Linked DNA regions of Homo sapiens: region 1 is linked to region 2. Evidence: promoter capture Hi-C in 16 types of primary human blood cells and fetal thymus (Javierre and others, 2016). All regions are on one chromosome and are shown on one strand. The core of a region is centred on a gene start or on the middle of the fragment in contact, and the rest is flanking DNA. Distances in the headings are between cores, read along the strand shown. Region 1 holds the start of METAP2 (methionyl aminopeptidase 2). Region 2 holds the start of TMPO (thymopoietin).

Evidence for each region. Contacts are between HindIII fragments. The CHiCAGO score rates a contact against its expected background, and 5 or more counts as called.
Region 1: the fragment with the promoter of METAP2 here is called in contact with the fragment with the promoter of TMPO in region 2 in 3 of 17 cell types (activated CD4 T cells, non-activated CD4 T cells and naive CD8 T cells); the score reaches 8.5 in activated CD4 T cells.

Annotation. Positions count from the first base shown.
Region 1 is chr12:95,472,360-95,477,360 of GRCh38, forward strand. It overlaps METAP2 (methionyl aminopeptidase 2), which reads left to right and starts at 1,793. Exons shown (of 11, transcript NM_006838.4): 1 at 1,793-1,971; 2 at 3,712-3,819. The coding sequence starts at 1,821. RefSeq lists an enhancer at 1,610-2,009. The HindIII fragment of the contact is 1,745 bases long and covers 846-2,590 here.
Region 2 is chr12:98,512,441-98,517,529 of GRCh38, forward strand. TMPO (thymopoietin) reads left to right here and starts at 3,150. Exons shown (of 9, transcript NM_001032283.3): 1 at 3,150-3,706. The coding sequence starts at 3,428. It overlaps TMPO-AS1 (TMPO antisense RNA 1), which reads right to left and starts at 3,786. Exons shown (of 2, transcript NR_027157.1): 1 at 3,551-3,786; 2 at 533-3,457. RefSeq lists enhancers at 2,770-2,849, 3,110-3,299 and a silencer at 3,640-3,909. The HindIII fragment of the contact is 4,246 bases long and covers 1,072-5,089 here.

The DNA of each region.
Region 1 (5,001 bases), core at 543-3,042, 3.0 Mb before region 2:
TCTAAATATTGCCAGATCTAGGTTTATAGTAGGCATTGAACGAATGGATGGATGAGTGAATAAGTGAATATGTCAGCCAAGCAAAGAGCAGCCCAGATAAAAGTAACAGTGAGTTTGAAATGCTCCAAGGTCAGAAAGAGCTTTGAGAGCTGGAGCTATAATAGTAAGAGAGTGGAGACATTGGAGAAGTAGATATGGCTGGGTCTTGCCGGGCATTTTAAAGGATTTTGGACACATGGAAGCTACTTCTATTTTTATTTTTGTGGTATTATGTTTGGTTTACCAACTTTTTATTTTTTATTTTATTTACTTTTTTGGGGGGGATGGAGTCTCGCTCTGTCGCCCAGGCTGGAGTGCAGTGGCGCAATCTCAGCTCACTGCAACCTCCCCCGGGGTTCAAGCGATTGTCCTGCCTCAGCCTCCCTAGTAGCTGGGACTACAGGCGCCTGCCACCACGCCCGGCTAATTTTTGTATTTTTAGTGGAGACGGGGTTTCACCATATTGGCCAGGCTGGTCTCGAACTCCTGACCTTGTGATCTGCCCACCTCGCCCTCCCAAAGTGCTGGGATTACAGGCGTGAGCCACAGCGCCCGGCCGGTTTACCAACTTTTATATTGCCAGCAATCAACTAGGGAAAACAATTTAAAATCTAAATAGGGATAGATTTAAAGAGATAAAGATCTGTACAAGAATAAGAGGAACAGTTTTTATTACTATTGGATAGGTGCTGCCTGAAGCTTTAAGACAGAGAATGTACATTTATGCAGCTGCAGTCAGAGCCTGTGTGAGGTTTACTGTAAACTCACTGGCAATAAGGCTCTTAACGACATTTTGATGCCCATGAAGCTTGGTGCCTAGTTTAAAACTAATGAAAACACCTAAACTCTCCAGGTGGACAAAGCCATATTCAGGAGAAATTGAGAAGGAGTTGGTGCAGGCAGCCAATCACAATCCACTTACGCCACAAACTAAATCTCAAACTGCGGTTTGAACATGAGGCTCAAAACATAAGAAGTAAAGAAATGGGCAAAATTCAATTAGTTTCTGGTGAAACGTCCTAAATCCAAAAGAAAGGTGACCAGAAATAGAGAAAACGGAGTGTGATCTTTTGCATTAATGAGAGAGACCGTGTCCCCGTGTGTTAAAACCTGTCATTCTTGTCCTGAATTGGAAAGTGAGCGGAGTGTGACGGGTTCCCATCTTGAACCGTCCGGGGTTGAGTAGTACAATAAACTAACACGGAACTCCAGCTTCCAAAATTCTCTCCAGTGCCTACAGAGCCTCGCGGAGAGCTGTGATTGTGAATGTCAACGCAGATTTGATTAAATCTCTTAGATTTAAGAGATATGTGGAGTCATGACAATAGAAATGTGTACAAGTGAACACATTTCTTAGCCCGTTTCCCCACTGCCTGTGTGATTTATAAAAACGCAAATATAAAATATTTCCGTTCCAGCAGAGACGCCGCTTGCTACGGCGGGTTGCCCGTCTCCACAGGTATCTCCGGCTGACTCTAGAGCTCAACTTCCCCTTTAAACTTCACCCTGCGCTTGCCGATTTGCTTCGGGAATGCCCGAGGCACCGGACGAAGCAGTCGGGTCTGGCCCCAGTCGACTCCAGCCAGGCGGGGCTCCAAGCCGAGACTCCTGCACGCCCGGCCCGAAGCTAGCCCGACACCCTCAGCTGAGTCCTCCGCCGTCCCAGCATTCCCTGCGTCCCTACCATCGAGAGCAGCTTCCGGCGTGGCTGGTGTAGGCGGGTGGAGAAGGATCGGGGCCCTCGCCGCTCTGTCTCATTCCCTCGCGCTCTCTCGGGCAACATGGCGGGTGTGGAGGAGGTAGCGGCCTCCGGGAGCCACCTGAATGGCGACCTGGATCCAGACGACAGGGAAGAAGGAGCTGCCTCTACGGCTGAGGAAGCAGCCAAGAAAAAAAGACGAAAGAAGAAGAAGAGCAAAGGGCCTTCTGCAGGTAAAGAGAGTTTTATGTTTTCCCAGTCCCCTCCGGGAACGGCTGAACTGTTTGGCTCAGGCCCGTTGAGGGGGCCGGGACCGGGGCCCCAGAGCCCCGACTAGACTGATTCTTGGGCCTGACAGGGTGGCAAAGCCGGGCTATAGATTCCTAGTCTGAGAAGAGGCGTCATCTCCTCCTGTGGGACTAGAGGGCTGGTGGGGGAGAAAAGAGTGCCTGAGGTTGGCGTGTGGTACCTCTGGGGTCGCTGGGCCCGAGCCCCTGTATTACCAGAACTCAGCTCCCACGCACATCGTGGCACGGTCTTGAGATTGTGCGCAGAGCACAGCCCTACCATCTTTCGCGCGATTTGGCCGCCGCCTCAAAAATCCGATTCTGATCCGTATTGCCGCGTCTTTGCTGGTTTGCTGGAGCAAGCTAGGACTTATTTTCTTTGGGGGTGGGCAAATGTAATGGAGAGCACACCTCCTCCCACTATCCCGTTTCACGTTGGGGTTGTTGCAGCCTGCACTTTTGGGGTGTGTGTACATGTGTGTTTGCCCGCGCGCTCATGTCATTAATTGCAGAATTTGTGGTGGTGATAACGAATTTTCACCTGCCTAATCCCATAGCATCGCCAAGCTTTAGGGCCTTTAGACCTGAATTATGATACCAATTGCAGGCAGTGCAGATAGGATATTCTGTGGCTCAGAATGGAACTTCTGAGGTCTTAACCTCTAAATCCACTGGTAAGGCAAGGAGAACTGCTGAGAGTTTACAGTTGGATATTATGAACTAGGAACTTACATATTTTGAGAAGTCTGTGTTTTTGCTGCACAAGCTCCTTCACCTTAATAAAAATTATTTTTACTTGTTTCTAATTAAAATCGCCAGAGAAACAGAAAATGGAGAAGTCAGAAGCGATTAAGATGGAATTGAGAGAGGTCGAAGAGAGCTAATCTTCATCTTTCTGAAATTTTGATTAGATAGGAATGGAAGGAGAGTTGTAGCGTTGCTGGAACTCTTCCAGAGCAAAATTTGTTACTCTGGTGGCTGTTCCTGGATTTCGAGTGAAATTCAAACACTGCTGTTTGTCTTGTAAGGTGTTAAGCTGACTGATCCTAATGTATTTTTAACAGTTGTATTTCTTAATATGAATTCTCTCCAGTAGCCAGAATGTCACTTCATTTCGTGCTACCTGATACTATTAATGCATGTAACATATTGCTCTTATAGGTAGGTTATAATCACTTCCAGAGCAGGGGCCTGGTCTTGTGCTTAGATATTTGAGCGTTTTAGTTTTTTAGTAATGGACTGTCTTTGCCTATTTATTTTGACTTTACCCAGCCCATCGTGATATCCTTATTCATGAAACCAGGCTGCCCCGGGGTGTTGCACATGAATCTTTTTCCTAAGGCCTTCAGCATTTATTACCTATCTGGTGTTTAAGTATTTGTTAAGTCTAATTGCTGACCACTATTACAAGTTAAACTACTTGAGGATAGAGACCAGTTCACGCTGTTTATCTTTTAGCTGCTAGTGTGTGTAATGGATATTTTGTTGAGTAAATTAATGAATGGACAATACTGTGTAGGTATGGAAGATTTTTCTGTCATTAAACGAATTCTGTTATGTTCACAATAATGTTTCTGTTTTTGTTTCCTGAGGAAAGGATTTGTAAGTTTTCCAAGATCATTAGAGCATATTCTAGTGGGAAAGTGTCTGTATTAGATTTGATTTCTGCTATTTTATTTTGATCAGCAGGGGAACAGGAACCTGATAAAGAATCAGGAGCCTCAGTGGATGAAGTAGCAAGACAGTTGGAAAGATCAGCATTGGAAGATAAAGAAAGAGATGAAGATGATGAAGGTAAATGGTTAATTTGATCTTTGTGGTTAGAAAAGCTAGAAAATGTAGCCGGGTGTGGTGGCACACACCTGTAATCCCAGCACTTTGGGAGGTCGAGGCGGGTGGATTACATAAGGTCAGTAGTTCGAGACCAGCCTGGCCAACATGTTGAAACCCCATCTCTTCTAAAAAGACAAAAAAAAATTTAGCCGGGTGTGGTAGCACACACCTGTAATCCCAACAACTTGGGAAGCTGAGGCAGGAGAATTGCTTGAGCCCGAGAGATGGAGGTTGCAGTGAGCTGAGATTGCACCACTGCACTCCAGCCTGGCCAGCAGAGTAAGACTGTCTCAAAAAAAAGAAAGAAAGAAAGAAAGAAAGAAAAGCTAGAAAATGTGATATTCCTTAATCAAAATTTATTTACTCGTATAGTGTTTTCTCTGACATTTCACTTGTTACCTCAATTAATGTCACAGATTAAAAAGGAAAAGGTATTTATTAGCAAGTCTTGAAAAAGTTCAATGTGTTAATTAGCTGTTCAGATAGGACAGATCTCAGAGTTTAAAAATATACTTGGTAGAAGGCAAAGTAGTGAGTATTAATAAGATTGAGGGGTTGTTTATTTAACTAATACTTACTGAAGAACTACTATGTACTAGATACTTTCCTAGGTTATTTTCACATACATTCACATTTTAACCTCACAAAACCAAGCAAAGTAACCTACTTGTGCTTAGATATCCATTTTGTTTTTTGGTAATGGACTGTCTTTTCCTATTTATTTTGACTTTACCCAGCCCTTCATGGCTTTACCCAGCCATCTCATTTTACAGATAGGGAAGTGGTAGTTACATGATTTACCCAAAGTGACATAGCTAATATGTGTAGAATAGAGCCAGAATTTCAAACCTAGTGCCTGACTGCACGTTTGTTCCTTTTACTCTCTATTTTTTTTTTTCTTTTTGAGACCGAGTCTCGCTCTGTCGCACAGGCTGGAGTGCAGTGGCGTGATCTCGGATCACTGCGACCTCCCGAGCTCAAGCAATTCTCCTGCCTCAGCCTCCCGAGTAGCTGGGATTACAGGCGCCTGCCACCATGCCCAACTAATTTTTTTGTATCTTTAGTAGAAATGGGGTTTTGCCAGGTTGGTCTTGAACTCCTGACCTCAAGTAATCTGCCCACCTCAGCCTCCCAAGGTGCTGG
Region 2 (5,089 bases), core at 1,900-4,399:
TCCCGCCTTTCTGGAAGGGACCAATCTACATCTTACACATATTGATTTTAGAGACAGGGTCTCACTCTGTCACCCAGGCTGGAATGCAGTGACAGGATTATGGCTCACTGCAGCCTCAACCTCCCAGGCTCAAGTGATCCTCCCACCTCAGTCTCCCTAGTAGCTAGAACTACAGGTGGGCACCATGGCTAAATTTTGTATTTTTTTGTAGAGAGGGGGTTTTACTGTTTTGCCCAGGCTAGTCTTGAACTCCTAAGCTCAAGGGATCCGCCTGTCTCAGCCTCCCAAAGTGTTGGGATTACAGGCGTGAGCCACAGTGCTCAGCCTTTGTGTTTTTTGTGTCACATTGATCAAATATTTTAAAAATTATCTTTTATGTTGAAACAAGTATTAAGGAGATGATGGAAAGAGTCAATTCCTTGAGAAGGGTGAGAGCCAGAGTACAAGTGGTGGAATTTCCTTCTGACAGGACACATCTTTCACTGAAAAGAAAAATGCAAGAGAAAATGAATGCAAATTGGAAAGTCTGACGTTGAAGCATTCCTCATAGGTGGTTTTTATTTTTTGAAGTTGAGGCAAGGTCACCAGCTAAAAATGAGAGGTAGGGAAAAAGGATGTGAAATTTGAGGAGATGTGAACGTATGAATGGTTAACCCAGAGACTGGAATAGCATTGCCAGCCAGTGTTGAGTGCTCCTGAGAGGACTGAGGTCATGAATTAAAACCAGTTAGCTTGTTATATGACTGACTTTTCTCCAGCAGCTTTTGCTGTTTGGATGTAAGCAATGAGAAAGTTCAGCTGGAGCATGGTTTAGTCCAAGCAAGGCTGAGATTCTTTCAAGCAAAAAAGGAGACATTGAGATCAGAGAGTTGAAAATGTTTGTAAAAGAGTGATGAAAAGGACTGATCAGGGAATTTAAGTCAGGTGAGTTGCAAAATTATTACATGATGGCAGAAGCAGAAGAGTTGAGTTTTTTTAAGTGTTGGGGTTAATAGCGTGGAGGTCTTAATTAGGTAAGTGAGAGTACCATAAATTAGCTGGGAAAAAAAGGCTAGTGATTGACAATTGGGAAGCTTGAAACTGAGATTTCAACTGATGACAAGGTTCAGAATCTGACTGATACCGAAGTGGTTAAGACGCAAGAGAGGAACAAATTGTTGGAGATGAAGAGGTCAGAGGTCTAAGAGGCCAAGTGTTGGTGTTGCATGGGTCACCTACAAGCATGCTGAATTCAGATAGAATGTAGACAAGAGGGATGGTGAGGAAAACCTACGGCAAGCAGCTCTATAATTTCTGGAAAGTGACCAGGAGGCTCGTGGATGATGGCAGGAAGGAGAGTAGAAAGTGATTTAGCCAGAAGATATGAACTTCAAATATTTTTGAAGCAGAAAAGAGCAGAAATGGTTTGGAAGTAGCAATCAGGACCAAAGAGACCACCCAAACTCAATAGCCCAACCTCTTAGCCTTAGGGTACGCAGAATCTGAAAAGTGTAATCTCAATTTTGGAGCTCTACAGCAGTAAATCTGCAAGTAACCACCTGTAGCTAATGTCCAGGGATTAAAAAAAAGATAATGAAAATGTTTTTGCCCAGGAAACATTAATTTCAGGCGTATCTAGAATGCAGTTCTTGCATTATACGTACTGGGTTACCAGTCATTGCAAAGTCATGGTCCTTTGCCTCTCAGCTCAGTTCCCCTTCTGAAGATAAAAACATTTGCCTATGTGTCCAGGGAAGCTGTGAGGACAAAAAACCAAGCAACTTTTACAAGGGATCATAAAAACCTACCTAACAACTTGCTAATTAAAACCTGATTTTTAATTTGCATTATTGAGCTTAATACCATTGCTTAAATGTATGTGAATACTGAGATTTTTATAAAGGAATTAGTTACCTCTAGGAAAATAATTATCACTAAAAGAAATAATATCGCAATTTGAATAAAAGTAAGTCGCTTAAATCATAGGAAACATTTTTAGTGAAGGCGTTTGTTTTAAATGTATTCTAACCTAGCAATGTAGAAAGCAGGCAAACATTTAAAAAAAATTTAACCAGTTTCTAAAACATAGTTTGGAGCTCAGATTCTGGGGAAATGATTAACACACCCTACATCCAAGGTCTCCTTTCCTTTCTAGAAAGAAAGCATCTTTAAACATACATATTCATCAGAAATACAAATATTTGTCATCAGTGATACTAATTTCCAGGCAAACATTTTAATTGCAGTCAATGTATTAGATTCTACCAGGTTTTAATTTGGATCGGTAATACGGGTTTGATTAGGGTTCTAGGCCTAATTATAGGTCACTAGTCTTCCTTTAGGATTATGCACCATCTGTTATTTTAAATTGACCATTGAGGGGGTTCCCAAGGGTTCTCCTTCGTTTTGTTATCAAACGTTAGGTTTAGGATTCTTGCGGGTGGTGGGATCCAAAGCCAGAGACGGTTTCAACAAAAATGCAAGCGCGAATTTGTCTTGCGTCTGAACGCACTGTTCAAATTAAACAATTTAGACATGCCCCAACTATGACACTAAGAAGTGAATGGTATAGTACACTTTTGTCACAAATTCAAGGGTAATTTAAGTGCCCGATTGTAGAGGTCTGGCTTCCCCTGGGTTTCTGGAACAAAAGAAGCGTTCGCGAGGAGAGGGGTAACTCCCCGCCCTCCCCCTCCCAAAGTAAATCAAATCAAGGAATATGAGTGCCTGCAGACAAGCCTCGCTTCTTTTCTTCCCCTTCAGGGCTAGCGTTTGGGGAAGGCAAGGCTGCGGCTACTCTTGGAGCTTCAGTGTCCCGGGAGGAAGAAAGGCCCAGCCAAGGGTCCTCACACTGGCGTGGAATTCGGCGCGTTCGTAGGCGATCGACCCCAGAGACGAAAGCTGCTTCTCAAGCTGGGGGAGGGAGAGGAAACGGCGCACAAAAGCAGTACGACCTGTCCCTTATCGGCGTCTAAGGGGAAGGGTGGAGAAAACGAAAACAGAAGCGGGCCGGGAGCCTCGGCTCCCGCCCCAGCGCCTTTTAAACTGCGTTTCTACCTCCTCTCGCTCAGCGCGGCGGCTAATGGAACCCGCGCGAGCCGTCTCGCCAATCACCGCCGCGCTTCCTCCCGTCGCCCGCCAATGGCGGCGCGCGTTCTTGGGGCGTGGGCGAAGCAGGCTGCTCGCCTCCTGCCTGTAGTGTGTGGGCTGGGGTTGGTGCGAGCTTCCAGCTTGGCCGCAGTTGGTTCGTAGTTCGGCTCTGGGGTCTTTTGTGTCCGGGTCTGGCTTGGCTTTGTGTCCGCGAGTTTTTGTTCCGCTCCGCAGCGCTCTTCCCGGGCAGGAGCCGTGAGGCTCGGAGGCGGCAGCGCGGTCCCCGGCCAGGAGCAAGCGCGCCGGCGTGAGCGGCGGCGGCAAAGGCTGTGGGGAGGGGGCTTCGCAGATCCCCGAGATGCCGGAGTTCCTGGAAGACCCCTCGGTCCTGACAAAAGACAAGTTGAAGAGTGAGTTGGTCGCCAACAATGTGACGCTGCCGGCCGGGGAGCAGCGCAAAGACGTGTACGTCCAGCTCTACCTGCAGCACCTCACGGCTCGCAACCGGCCGCCGCTCCCCGCCGGCACCAACAGCAAGGGGCCCCCGGACTTCTCCAGTGACGAAGAGCGCGAGCCCACCCCGGTCCTCGGCTCTGGGGCCGCCGCCGCGGGCCGGAGCCGAGCAGCCGTCGGCAGGGTAAGGACGCGGGGCCGGGGCTACAAAGGCGGGCGTTTGGCGGTTGCCGCGCGCGCTCGCCGCCGTTTGCAGCCCCTCCCTCCCGGGCGCCCCCTCGGGCCTCCCAGGTGCGGGGCTGTCCCTGCGCCCCCTCGCGTCGCCCCTTCCCCGCGGGGCTGCAGGCGCCGGAGCGGAGAGGCCAGAAGTTGGGGCCGCGGGGTTCGCGTTCTTTGACGTGTGGGTCTGGGAGGTGTGGAGTTGCGTTGGCGGCGGTTGTTTTGCACGCAGTCGACGCCGCTTCCCTGGACCACCAGCCGCCTGCAGCGGGCGTTTAGACGGGGACTTCCGTGCCCTTTCGAAAGCTCTGGAGGGGTGGCCCCAAAATGCTATAGGTTAAGTTCGAGCGTTTTCCCGCTTTATTAACTGAAATGACTCGCAGCAGAGTCTCAGAGCGCTCCCTGGAGGGCAACTGATGACACTCTAATTTCTAACCAAAATTTGAAATGAGGAAATTCCCGCCTTTTTATACTTTTGCGTGTGGAGGGCTTTTTGAACCGTTTATGTTTTCTAGTTTGTTTTAATTTTTCCCAGCAACAGGCCATCTTTTGGCGGAACAGGTTCATGCCGAATTAAAAGGAGCATTTTAAACTATATTTTTAGGCGCCTATTATAATTTTTTAGTTTTTATTTATTTATTTTTTTAGATGGAGTGTCGCACTTGTTGCCCAGGCTGGAGTGCAATGGCGAGATCTCGGCTCACCGCAACCTCCACCTCCCGGGTTCAAGCGATTCTCCTGCCTCAGCCTCCCGAGTAGCTGGGATTACAGGCATGCGCCGCCACGCCCGGCTGATTTGTGTATTTTTTAGTAGAGACGGGGTTTCTCCAAGTTGGTCAGGCTGGTCTCGAACTCCTGACCTCAGGTGGTCCTCCCGCCTCGGCCTCACAAAGTGCTGGGATAACAGGCGTGAGCCACCGGGCCCGGCCCTGCAAACAAATATTTGAAAATTGCAGTTTGGATTGCGTTTTCCCCACATATTGGTAAATTTTGCTTGAGGAAACGAAAGACTTAGGATTCAGGAAAAATTTATTTCATGACATTCTGGTGCATCAGTATTGCAATTTGGAATGTCTGATCCTGGTTAAATCTCAAATCGGCTCCAGCAAAGCATGTTTTGTTTCAGAATAGTTTGCTTTTTTACCTGTGGATTTTAATATGCTTTTTGTGGGTTTGCTTATGCCTGCCGAGTTACCAGGCTTCAAATCGTAATAGGATGAAGCTAAAACTAGTAATTGGTGTAACATAAAATGCCTTGTAAGAGACAGTGAATGTGGTGTTTGGAGTTGTTGGGAATGATCACTAGTTTAAACCGAAATTATTCCTTCCTTCAAATTTTACTTTAGTT